Linked DNA regions of Homo sapiens: regions 2 and 3 are each linked to region 1. Evidence: promoter capture Hi-C in 16 types of primary human blood cells and fetal thymus (Javierre and others, 2016). All regions are on one chromosome and are shown on one strand. Each heading gives the region's core, a stretch centred on a gene start or on the middle of the fragment in contact. The rest is flanking DNA. Distances are from core to core; before and after follow the strand shown.

The links. The method cuts DNA at HindIII sites, captures the fragments that hold promoters and counts their contacts. A CHiCAGO score of 5 or more calls a contact.
Region 2: a fragment that was not itself captured here is called in contact with the fragment with the promoter of GHRL in region 1 in 2 of 17 cell types (non-activated CD4 T cells and total CD4 T cells); the score reaches 5.5 in non-activated CD4 T cells.
Region 3: a contact is called between the fragment with the promoter of CAMK1 here and the fragment with the promoter of GHRL in region 1, in 7 of 17 cell types (naive CD4 T cells, total CD8 T cells, monocytes and 4 more). The highest score is 7.0, in naive CD4 T cells.

The regions. Positions count from the first base shown.
Region 1 is chr3:10,291,012-10,295,227 of GRCh38, forward strand. GHRL (ghrelin and obestatin prepropeptide) reads right to left here and starts at 1,936. Exons shown (of 6, transcript NM_016362.5): 1 at 1,831-1,936; 2 at 1-440. It overlaps GHRLOS (ghrelin opposite strand/antisense RNA), which reads left to right. Exons shown (of 6, transcript NR_073568.1): 6 at 1,057-2,438. RefSeq lists enhancers at 1-182, 1,694-1,763, 1,774-2,023, 1,834-2,128. The HindIII fragment of the contact is 7,186 bases long and covers 1-3,648 here.
Region 2 is chr3:9,670,757-9,674,972 of GRCh38, forward strand. It overlaps MTMR14 (myotubularin related protein 14), which reads left to right. Exons shown (of 19, transcript NM_001077525.3): 6 at 292-414; 7 at 1,929-2,002. Among named protein-coding and RNA genes, the nearest start is that of MTMR14, 23 kb to the left of the region's middle. The HindIII fragment of the contact is 1,277 bases long and covers 1,836-3,112 here.
Region 3 is chr3:9,767,732-9,771,947 of GRCh38, forward strand. It overlaps CAMK1 (calcium/calmodulin dependent protein kinase I), which reads right to left and starts at 2,216. Exons shown (of 12, transcript NM_003656.5): 1 at 2,101-2,216; 2 at 1-50. The coding sequence starts at 18. It also overlaps a transcript of OGG1 not described here. RefSeq lists a silencer at 1,987-2,166. The HindIII fragment of the contact is 10,493 bases long and covers 868-4,216 here.

The sequences.
Region 1 (4,216 bases), core at 686-3,185:
AGAGTGGCTCTGGGGTCTGGGTGCAGCTTTGTTGCTGTGTGACCTTAGCTTACTCGCCCTTTCTCCCTGGGTAAAATGAGGCTGTCATCACTAGGAGAGCTCTGAGACCTCCCCAGTCCAGCGCCCCGTTGTTTCCCATGTGCTGTTGCTGCTCTGGCCTCTGTGAGCCCCGGGAGTCCGCAGGGAGCCAGGCTGGTGATTCTACACCTTCCCGAGGAGGAGTCCCACCTCCCGGTTGAGCAGACTGCTCCTGATCATCCTCTCCAGAGAGTGGGTGTGGGGATAACTTCAGCCAGTGGCTATGCTTCAGTCATTTCTGCCAGGTGTGACATGACTGCCTGGCCTGGCGTTTTTTCACATAGCAGCTTGCCTTGCCTCCCTCCAGCAGCTTTGGTCCCTATTTTAGCGGATGCCTCTTCTGAGAGGGAAGTGCATTGGACCTGGAGGTGGAAGATCTACGCTTAGCACGGGCCTGGCTCCTCTCTCATTGACTGGCCTTACGCCGACCACAAATAATTCCCCTTACCCAGAGTCTTTGAGGGTGAAATGAGGCGATGGGGGGAAAGTGGCTTCTAACCTGTGAAACACCCTGCAGATGACAATGGTTTCATACCAGGCCCATAGGACTTCCCAGCATAGGCCAAGGCCACTGCCTCATTTCCCTCGGCCCCAGGAATTTCTTCCTTTCTGGAGTGCTTCATCCAACTGGGTGCCCAGGCAGGAACCCCTAAGGGCCAATGAGTTGTCTGCAGAGAAGTTCTAGCAGTTCAGGAGAGGAGCTCACCTTAGGCTGGGGCTTGCGGCAGGGATGTTAGCAAAGGCTCCAGGAAAGAGGCCTGTGGTGAACTCGGGGCAGGGCTTTGGAGGGAGGGCTTTGCGGCAAGCAGAGGGGAGGTGAAGGCGTGGGTAGAGTACATCAGGGCAGCATGGAGAAGGCTGGGTGGCTTGGGGGAGGGTGGCGATGGGGTCATAACAAAAACATAAGAAGGTGGTTTGGGGCCAGGTGATGGATGCCTTGGGAACTGCTAGCCCAAGAAGTTTGGGCTTTTTTTGCAGGAGGGCAGCCACTGAGGATTCTTGAGGAGAGAGAGACCATAGAATGAATGAAAGAGTTGGAAAGACTTTAAAGCTCTGGGAGGCTGAATCCTTTATTTCGCTGGAAGAAAAACTGAATGCCAAGAGGGCCTCACTTTCCCCAAAGCTATACAGCCATCAGGGGCAATGCTGGGATTCCCCCATGGATCTCTTGACTCCTAATACAGTGCTCTTTCTGATATGCCATCTGGCTCCATAATGAACATTGTGTTCCAGGAAAATCAGTCTGCGCTGAACAGGATGGAATTGGGGCAGGACGTCCAGTGAGGAGGACATTGAGGCAGTAGAGCAGTTGATTGCCGAATGACCACCTACCCTGACTTAAAAGATCAACCTCAGGGAGGATTGGAGCTTTCTAGAGTCTCTTGGGACAGCAGAAGCACAGGCCGGGTTGGACTGAATCTTTAAGTGGACATGAGGGACAAAGTACCTCCTGTTGGTAAACATCTCACCACCAACCCACTGTGGTGGCTAAAATCCCACCTTTAGTCCCAGCAACATATGAGCATGTCACCAGGAGGTCTTCACAGGCCTGTCTGCCACCTGAGTGTAGACATCTTTTGGCCCTGGAGCCCAGAGAGGCTGAATGTGGAGAGGGTGGAGAGAGGTCTGTAGTCCTCAGAGAAGACTTGCAGCTTTTTCAGAGCCACCAACCCATAAAAAAAAAAATCCCCAAACAGAAAAATCCTAACTGTGGTGACCAGGTACCTCCTGAGACATGAAGCCTCCACTTACCTGGACCCTGGAGGCCTCTCCGGGCACAGCTGCCAATGTTGATCTTAGATAAGACCACCAGCAAGTAAACATCCACTGTGCAAAGCTGTGTTATCTTTGGGGAACTGAAATGTCCCCTGGGAGTTGGAAACTCCCCTAGCCACATACCACAGAGTTGAGGAAGGAAGAGCTGATGGACGGAAGAACCATGGCGGGAGGAGTCATCCGGAAGCTACCTCGCTGCCCTGTCAGTTACGGAACAGAGGAGAGATGCCGGCTGGAGGACACAGCAAATTTGAACCAAGAGGAGCTTGGAGGAAGCCCGAGCGACCTGGAGGGGACTGGCTGACCTTCCTCATTCTTTTCAAGTGTGAATAATAACCAAGCCCAGTTTGGCAACTCCTTGAGGGTGAGGACGAAGCCCCATTCTCCTTTTTGGAACTTGGTGGGGCTCAGGAAGCAGGTTCTCTCCAGTCGGTGGCTTTCCTTTCTGTTGCGGGTCTCTTGAGGGCCTGCCTTCATGAAGGCACATGAGTGACTCATCATTTGTGAATTAATTGCTATATGTGAAGGGCATCTGAGAACAAATTATCTTCATAGACTTTTCATTATAATTTTATTTGTACTGATAATTAGTTGGTTTAGCAAGCTCTTTTTTCATAGATTTGGCTAAACTTCAGTCTGAAAGAGGCAAATTCTGGGGTTCTAGAAAGAGATTTTATTCTTTGATATAGGGCTATTTGGTGGGGTTGCTTTTTGTCCTAGTTGTAGCTTTTATAATTTCGAGATTCACATTTTGCAATAGAAATATACAGGCATACCTTGGAGGCATTACAGCTTTGGTCCCAGACCACAATGAAGCAAGTCACACGAATTTTGTTGGTTTCCCAGTAAATATAAAACGTATGCTGATACCATACTATAGTCTAAGTGTGCAACAGCATATGTCTAAATGAATATACATATATATTTTTTTGAGACAGGTTCTTGCTCTGTCACCCAGGCTGGAGTGCAGTGGCACTATCATGGCTCACTGCAGCCTCCACCTCCCTGGACTAAGATGATCCTCCCACCTCAGGCTCCCAAGTAGCTGGGACTACAGGTCACACCACCACACCCAGTTAATTTTTGTATTTTTTGTAGAGACAGAGTCTTGACATGTTGCCTAGGCTGGTCTTGAACTCCTGGCTTAAGTGATCTGCCTGACTTTGCCTCCCAAAGTGCTGGGATTACAGATGTGTAGTCTTTGAAATCCAGTGTGTGTTCTTACAGTGCATTTCAATTTGGACTAGCCATGTTTCAAATGCTCAGCAGCCACATGCGGCTCATTCTAGATAGGCGGCCATCGCTCTTAAATCCTCCCTGACCTTAGCCATGCTCTCTCATCCCTCCTCTTCGCCAAGCTCTGCCTCTCTCACTGGGGCTTCCCTAGCCTCCGGCCATCTTGGGGCCAAAGCTCTAACACTTTGCCTCTCTCGTGTCTTCTGTTCCCCTCCAGTGGCTTCTGCTTTCTGCCTTAAAATACACCCAGGTTCCTAATCCTGAAAACGTCTGTTGTGCACCGATCCCACCCTCCCCTCGTGTTACCATCTCCATTTCCTTCCCCTTTCCTTGTGTCCTCTTCTTTGCTGTGTCCTGGCCCCTCAAAACTTGACCTTGCCTCTCATCCCCACTGCTGTACTGAAACTGTTGTCTCAGCGTTGCTGATCATCCAGCCTTTTAGTCTATGGACCGCTAAGAGCCATAGGACGACCTCAGGGTGGGACGTGGCTTGGAGGGCCATCTCGTCTCAATTTCCAGATACAGACCTGTGTTGGGTTGTGTTGGATTCATGAGGAAAGCTTCATAAGTTTTATGCACGTTTATAAGACTCCATCCTTGGATTCTGATCCAGTAGCTCTGGCGTGGGGGCTTTAGAATCTGTTTCAAGTATCTCAGGTAATTTTGATTATAAATTACCAAGTATCCCAGGTAAATTTTGATTATAAATGCTTGCTTCCAGCAGAAAATATAAACATATGGAAGATGAAATCTTTCTCTCTGAATAACCCAATTCAGTTTCCACTCGTGAATATCTTATATAACCGTAGTACATTTATCAAAATTAAAACACCAGTGTTAGCACATTACTGTTAATCTCCAGACTATTTGTAAGTCACCAATTTTTCCATTGTCCCATCTGTTCTTCCTTTTCTTTCTCTTGTCATAACCACTTTTAGAGGGTTTTGAATGGTATCATTTTGTCTTCACCGTCGGCTTATTAGCTATACTGTACTGTTCTATTCTTTGAGTGGTTGCTCTAGGATTTACAAATATGACTTCAACATATTGCAGAATACCTTCAACAACTACGATATCCTTTCACAGATAGTGTAAGAACTGCACCACAGAATGCTTTCATTTCCCC
Region 2 (4,216 bases), core at 1,224-3,723, 620 kb before region 1:
TTGAGTCTTCTGGCTTAATGTCAAGCAATGCCAGAAAGTCCTTTTCCATTTCCACCTGCAAATTTCTCTTCTTTGAAATACATCCCAGAGATTGGGGTAGTCTCTTAGAAAGTCACCTTCCCTGCAACCTCGCTGAAATCAGTTGTCCTGTTTGGCACCCATGCGTCCACCTAGCACACGCCCCAGCTTCTGGAGAAGAGTGACATCCATACTTCCCTGAATGAGTGCCCACCCCCAAGCTCCTGTGAGTGAACATGCCATGTAACTTCTCCCTCTGGCTCTTTATTTCAGAAGTGGTGACACGCATCTTTTTGATAAGGTCAGAGGCTATGACATCAAGCTGCTTCGATACCTGTCAGTCAAATACATCTGTGACCTGATGGTGGAGAACAAGAAGGTGAAGTTTGGCATGAAGTAAGTACAGGCGCCCACTACAAAATGAGCAGAGGCAGTGTGTACAGATTTGCAGGGCTGGCGTTAGTATGTAGCTGTCACTGCGTGCTGGCCTTCTTACAAAGGGCTTTCTGTACATTATCTCACTGTATCTTCAGACAGCCCTGCAAAATAGGTACCAGTGTCCCCCTCTTACAGACACTGAAGCACAGAGAGATGAAGTAGCTTGCTCAGGTTGTATGTTAGTGACTGAGGCAGCCATCAGTCTCTACCCAGTGCTCTGCTGCCACCTTCTCTTACATATCTCTGTATTTTTTTTTTCCAGCTCCATGTTCTATGCCATGTGTGGCAGATTAGAATCTCTTAATTTTTTTAATTTATTTTTCATAGTGACAGAGTCTTTGTTGCCTAAAGTGGTCTCAAACATGTGGCCCTAAGCAGTCCTCCTGCCTCAGCTTCCCAAAGTGCTGGGATTACAAGAATGAGCCCACTGTGCCTGGTCCTAGAATTTCTTTTAAAATTGAACAAAAAAATCAGCATATATTCAAATTTTACTTCAGTGACTGCTGTCATATAAAAATAACACATATGGACCAAATTCAAATATAAGAAGTCAAAACTAAAAAATAGAGCCTGGGTTAGTGATGAGACTTCAGGAACTTTTTCCAAAATTTTGTTTTTTAAATGATTTTTAAATGTTTTTAAATGATCCTAAAAGGTGGTCTTAGAAAATAAGGCATACTGAGGCTAACGTTAGAGCTCACCTATCTTCAGATCTGAATATTGCCTTATTCCTCCCATCCTTTATCTGTCAGAGTCCCCAGTGTTTATTTTCAGATGCTGTTTGTTCACCCTGTTCAGAAGTGGGCTCAGTGACTATTAGAGAAGACAGGAGAGCAGAAAAAAAGGGTTCCCATAGGATCATATTATTTGGCTCTCATCTCATTCCTGGGTCAGAGTGGCTACACTGTGTGCATTTTGGGGTCAGGTGGAAGGTTGTTTTCCACCTTTAGGCTCTGATTGAGGCTTGCTGTAGTATTAGAGGGGGAGTAACTTCCCTTGGTTGATATGTTGGAATAGGGGCAGAGAAGGTAGAGTTCTTTTTTTGACATGGAGCCTCACCCTGTCACCCTGGCTGGAGTGCAGTGGCACAATCTTGGCTCACTGCAACCATCTGCCTCCTGGGTTCAAGCAATTCTCCTGCTTCAGCCTCCTGAGTAGCTGGGATTACAGGAGCGCGCTGCCACACCCCACTAGTTTTTTATATTTTTGATAGAGACAATGTTTCACCATGTTGTCCAGGCTGGTCTTGACGGGGTTTCTCCATGTTGGGAACATGACCTCCAGCCGATGCACCCAGCTGAAGTTATAGTTCTTAATTGTACAAAGTAGGCACTGCTGAAGGGAATTATTAACAATGAAGAATAGTTTTTTTTAGCAGAAGCTTCATTTGTGATTATAACCCTTATTTGGGGAATGGTGTGTGTTTGTGTGTGTGTTGCGACACTGTAACACATTGTATCCTTGTCTTGTAGTGTAACCTCCTCTGAGAAGGTGGACAAAGCCCAGCGCTATGCCGACTTCACTCTCCTCTCCATCCCGTATCCAGGTAGGGGGCTCTCTTCTAGTGGCAGGCATCCTAGGACTGGGGACCTTGGGGGCCATGAGCAAGCCCTCTCTACTTAGTTACACTGGCGCCCTGGGAGCTTTCCTGGAGGGTTTGTGTCAGGCAGTGTAGGACATTTTGGTTCCCAGTCACAGGCCACACTAAGCATAGGATAGTGTCCTGGGGAAGGGGCTTTCCACTCAAGGGGTTTAGGGATTTTGTACTGTCACTGGTCCTAGCCACAGCCTTGAGTGAAGTACTTCACCCCTCCAAGCCTCAAGTTTTCTCAGGAGCTTGGAACGATTTAGCTCAGTTTTGATTTATATGAAAGTGGTCTGTGCATGAAAATACTGTTTAAGTGTAAAATGACATTATTAGTACTCTGTGTGAGCAACTACACTTGCTGCTGTAGCCTGAGTGGATGTCACCCTTTGGGTGCATGTCTTGAAGTGATTGAGTTATTTATGGAAATTGCCCCAGGCAAGGCTATTCTGGTGGTAGAAGAACACATAATTGCTATGTTCCCAGTAACTGGACAGTGGCCACACCATGTTGCAAAGCACATTGGTATCCACAAAGCTGCATTTGTTCCTGGCACATAAAAGTGTGTGCAACCTGTGGCCAGGGCTGTATTCTCTGCACTGGATATTAAAGCTGTTGGTCTAGTGTGTAGCATTCAAGTTTTCTGGCAATACCTGCCTGTTTAGTAAGGGAGGCCAAGGACCTCTAACATCAGTGCAAGATGTTGTCAGCAGACAACAGGGAGTAAATACTCTTTCTCCTTAAAACCTCTCTCCTATTTCTCAGCACCAGCATCTGCCTTCAGTGTTGTGTTGGACCTTATCTCCTCAATATTGGGGCCACATAGCCATGAGCAAGGGCAGGCAGGTTCATCTAGTGCCTTGTGGGAGGGGTGTCCTCATCATGTGCAAGCTGGGGGCAGGAATCCCAGCCCTAGCACTGTGTCTCCTTGAACAAGTCCTATAACCCTTCTGAGCATCAGTTCCCTCCTTAATAAAATGAAGATAATGGTGCTTATTTAAGAGTGAAGTGCCAGACCCCTCCATAACAGGTGTCCTGTAAATAACAGGCCTAATGATGAGTAGTTGGGAAAGCTTCAGGGAACCTCCTTTTCCCTAAAAGCAAGTTTGCGCTGATGCAGATGATGATGATGGTGGTGATGATGTTGATGATGGTGATGATGATGATGATGATAATGATGCTGGAGTGAGCTTGGCAGTATCAGACCCACACTGATGGGTGTATCCTACCTAAGGGGGTCCACACTGGAACCACTGGGTAACTCCATAGCTGGTTTTCAGACATAGTTTCCAGCTCCCAGGAGATGCTTCGGGGGTTCCACAGACTGAACTCTGCAGGTTTGCACTGCCTGAGGAACCAGGCATCACTTCGTTTAAATTTAGGTTCCAAGTAGGACTTGGTTTGGAAAAAATAGTTTTGCTAGAAGTATAAATAACATTGCTCCAAAATAGTAGCACAGTGTCCTTTCTGCTGTAGTTTGGCAACTTGTTACAGGACTCCCAAAATGTTATCACCCTTTGACCCAGGTATTTTTCTAATAATTGGTCATTAGGCTGTAATTCAGCCACTTGGTGTTGAGGACGTTCATCATGATGTCTATTTGTAATAGCAAAACAAGAAATGTTTTCACTAATCAGAATAATGATTGAATGATGGCACATCCCTCAGTAGAATGAAATATTGTATAGTCATAGAAGAATCGAAAATGGGCTGGGCATGGTGGCTCACGCCTTTAATCTCAGCACTTTGGGAGGCCTAGGCAGTAAGATTGCTTGAGCCCAGGAGTTCAAGACCAGCCTGGGAAACAGCGACACTCTGTCTCTACCAAAAATAAAAAATAGAAAATGCTTACACTTTTTGACATGGAAAACGTCACAGAGCTTAAGATAGGCAGGATACAGAATCACATAGTATACTCTCAACTAAGTAAAGGAAAATGTGCTTATAAAAAAGGCTTAAAAGGAAGTGTGCCAAAATGTTAAGATGCCTGAATGCTTTCCCCAAAGCTTTTTTTGTTATAAAAGGCATCAAAAGCCGAGTGCAGTGGCTCACGCATATAATCCCAGCACTTTGGGAGGCTGAGGCAGGCAGATCACCTGAGGTAGGGAGTTCAAGACCAGCCTGACCAACATGGAGAAACCCTATCTCTACTAAAAATACAAAATTAGCCGGGCG
Region 3 (4,216 bases), core at 966-3,465, 520 kb before region 1:
TTCCACTGCCCCCAGCATGGCCCACTGCCCCCCGACCACAGCCAGGGCTCCTGTAAGGAGAATGGAAGGAGGAGACTCAGCAGAGCCCAGCCCTCTGTCTGGGAATTTACTGCAGGCCCCATTCAGTCATTCAACCTGCATTTATTCATCCTTGATTCATCCATTTGACAAAATCATTCAACAAACATTCATTTGTTTATTCAACATTCAGCAAATTCTCATGCCTAGAGAAAAACCTTTCACAGTGGCAGCAAAATTCTTTATTTAACAAAGTCATGCATTCATTCATTCATTTATTCTAGTTCTCTTCCCAGTTTTCCCCCTATCCAAATCCAAGCACCTAGGGAAACCCTGACTTCTGGCAGTACAACAGATAAACCCCCAGAGCAGCTGGTAGAAGCCTGGAGGATCCCCCTGTCCCCAGAACCAGTGATGTCCCCGCCCCACCCTGGGGATTGCTGGGGTGTCTCCTTTCCCTCCTCCTTCCCCCGACTCCCCGGCCTCTCCGAAATCAGGTTTCCAGCAGCCTGGGCTTCCAGCAACATCTCAGCCACATTTTTAAATAGCTCTTTCTGCACTGTTACCACAGCAACAACAGCCACAGCTGGAGCTCCCCAGACCTCTCCCTCCTGACTCCCCATCTGGGTCCCGGGAGCATGAGAAATGGTCCTGCTCACTCTGTCCCTTCCTGGCCCCATCTAACCCTATCCAGCCTGGCCCTTCCTCTGCTGAGGTCTGTCTCATCCAGCAGGAGAGGGTGGGAGTTCTCTCCCATTTATCAGATGAAGAATGGGGAGACTGAGGTTGGAGTTAGGTAGAGGCTGGCTCCAGAGGCCCTAATGACACCTGGCCTGGGGCCCCCAGCTAAGCTTGCTGAGGGCAAAGGCCATCGAATGGCCTTGGCTGGTACTTCCAATATGAAGCCAGAATGGGCCCCATTCAGAGAACACAGCCTCCCAACCCATCCACAGATGAGGCCAAAACAGAGCCCAGCATGCTTTGTGACCTCAGGGAGAGCACTTTCCTTCTCTCTTTTTCTCTAAGGGAGAATGAGGAGAAGGTGCCCTGACTAGGGCCTCTGGTGTGAGATTCCACTCCTGGAACAGGACCTTTTTCCCAGGGGACCCTGCCCACCCATCCAGGGGCAGAATCTTCTAGGAAAGGAGACTCGAGTGTAAGCTCTAGAGGCAGAGTCTGAAACCCACATGGAGGCCTACCAAATACAACCCTCACAGATCCACACACATCCCTGTAGCAGACATGCCACACCAAGCCCCCTCCACAGCCCTGAACTCAAACACCTGCCTCCCAGATCCAGTACGCCTTGTATCCACATCCCGTGACACCTGATCATACATGTACTCCCAGACATCAGCACACATGTCCACACCACACAGTGCCCCAGACAGCCCTGCACCCGAACACCTGCCTGTCCATCCAAACATCCCTCACCCAGCTCCCTCTTACACCCCAAAACACACATCCACCCGCACCCACACAAGATGACACCCAGACACACACACACACACCCTCATATACCAGACGTACCCTACACCCTCCAGCTCCTCTACCCCATCCCCTGGAAGCTCCTGTATTCCAAACCAAACCCCAAGTCCTTACACACCTAACTCCAAACATCCTCAGTACACAATTGTACACCCCCTCCTAACTCTGACTTAAGACCCTGAGAGCCAAATACCAGCACACAAAACACGTGGACACCCCTCTGGAACAAAAAACACACAGATTCCCAGATCCTCCACCCATGTCTGACCCACACGCCTGTCCTAAGACAGTACACTCCGCAAGCCCCCCCACCCCATGGATACCTCCAAATGCCCACGCCCTTCCAGTCAGGCCCAGCTGAAGGCGCTCACACAGGCCCCCTTCTCTATTACCCACTCAGTGTCCCATAGGCCCGCCTGGCACCTGCTGGGCCTGGGACAGAGGTGGAGAAAGGCCCAGCCCTGCCCCTCAGGGTCCAGCCCGCCCGGGAGAGTGCCCAGTGGCCACTCCTTGGGAAAGGATACCCAGAGGCTAGGGGCTCCCACCGCCCCCACGCAGCGCCCAGGGGTGCAGGGATGGGGGGCCCGGCTGTACCTGCGGCTGCCCCGCCGCGGGGCTGGCTGGGAGGCCCGCGGTGGTTGGCGCCGAGCTGTGGCCGCGGTCCTCACCGCTGCGTGCCTGGGCCACCCGCCCGCGCTCTTGCTGGAGCTGGGGCTCGGCTCGGCTCGGCGGCTCTCTCCGCCCGCCTGCGGCTCTGATGTCAGTGGAGGTGGAGCCTGCGGCGGAGGGACCCGGGATTGGGAGGCGAGGCACCGCTCCAAGGCTGGGGAAGGGGCACGGGTGGAGGCCATCTCCCTGCTTCTGGTCAGAGATCTCCTGCTGGACGCTTCCCGCCCTTGGTCTTAAGCGGGGTCCATTTCACAGAGGGGACAACTGAGGCCCGGAGAGATGATTTTCAAATCAGCGGGTGGTCGGAAGCAAAGCAGGATTCGAACCCCGTCTGTCTGAAGCTAGAGGCCGGCCAAACTCACCCTGTGGCCTGGTGGATTTTCTTTCAGACCAGTTCTGCGACCTCCCTTAGGGCTCTGTCTCCCTTCTCCGTGCCCTGAAGGGAAACAGGCCCTGGAACTGCACGGGAGTCTGGTGGGGGATGGGGGAGTGAGGGAGTGGGGAAGGACCGGGCAAGACTAGGCAATGAAGAGAGTGGAGGTGGTCGCAGGGTGTGGGCCCCACTTGACAGGTGGGAAGACTGAGGCCCCGGTTCCTCTGCAAGATGGAGCTGAGGCTTCAGCCCCAGACACTTGCTCCTCAGAGCGGGTGGTGGTGCCTAGAGGTATTGGGGGCAGAGGGAATTGGGGAGGAGGAAGTTAAATCGGGATCCTGAAGGAAACAGGCCAAAAAGGACCGAGGTGTCACGTGACTGGCGGGGCTCCAGAGTTTGATGGCTGGGGTCCAGGTTAGGGGAGAGAGCCTGCAACTAGGACGGCAGGCAAGAGGCCAAAGGTCGGTTTGCTCAAGGCCTTCCTTGGGAAGAAATTTGGTGCCGAGTGGAAAGAGGGGGCGGGGGGAGCAACTCGCAGGAATTGGGGATGGGGCTGAACTGGGGGCAGCCGGAGGAGGCACGTTGCTTGGGACCCCACTCCACCTCCAAGGGCCTCCAAGTGCCACTCCCTACTCCTGAATTCTTGCATGTTCCAGCTGGTGATGGGGAGAGAACAGTGCTTATGCCCAGCTCATTTCCTTTTTCTCTTTCTTTCTTTCTTTTTTCTTTCTTTCTCTTCTTCTTTTTTTCTTTTTCTTTTTTTTTTAAGACAGGGTCTTGCTCTGTCACCCAGGCTGGAGTGCAATGGCATGATCACGGCCCACTGCAGCCTCAAACTCCTGGGCTCAAGTCATCTTCCTACCTCAGCCTCCCATGTAGATGGGACTACAGGTGCGTGCCACCACACCTGGCTTTTTTATTTTTTGTAGAGATGGGGATCTCACTATATTGCCCAGGCTGGTCTCAAACTCCTGGGCTCAAGCAATCCTCCCCAATCAGCTTCCCAAGGTTCTGGAATTACAGGCATGAGCCACTGCACCTGGCCAATTTATTATGCCCATCTTACAGATGAGAGAGGAAGATAGCTGAGGTTCCTGGAAAGGCTTTGGAGTCTAACTGATCCTGGTCATGCTTTACCTCTCCGAACCTCAGTTTCTTACTCGGGAACATGGGAATATTGAAGATTGACTCAGAGTTCTGAGAATTCTATGATATAATGATATGAAGTGCCTAGAACACTATTCAAAACATGAGAGCTAGACTCAGTGTAAACTGAGACTCAGAGAGAGGACTTGATTTGGCCAGGGATGAGGGGTTAAGGGATCCATCTTCCAAATCTCAGTATCTCAGACTCCTTAGTTCATGGAAAAATACATTTCCTGCTCAGGGCTGAGCCCCCACTCTCCCCTATACCCACCAAGCACACCCACTGAGCTAGGGGTTCTTTTACCACAAATTCCTGTTCATCTTGATGACAACACCCCCTGGGTGATAAGATGACCTCTGTCCTTTCGAGGACTTGTACAACTTCTTTTTTTTTTTTTTTTTTTTTTTTTTGAGACAGTCTCCCTCTGTTGCCCAGGCTGGAGTGCAATGGTGCCATCTCGCCTCACTGCAACCTCCGCCTCCTGGGTTCAAGCAATTCTCCTGCCTCAGCCTCCCAAGTAT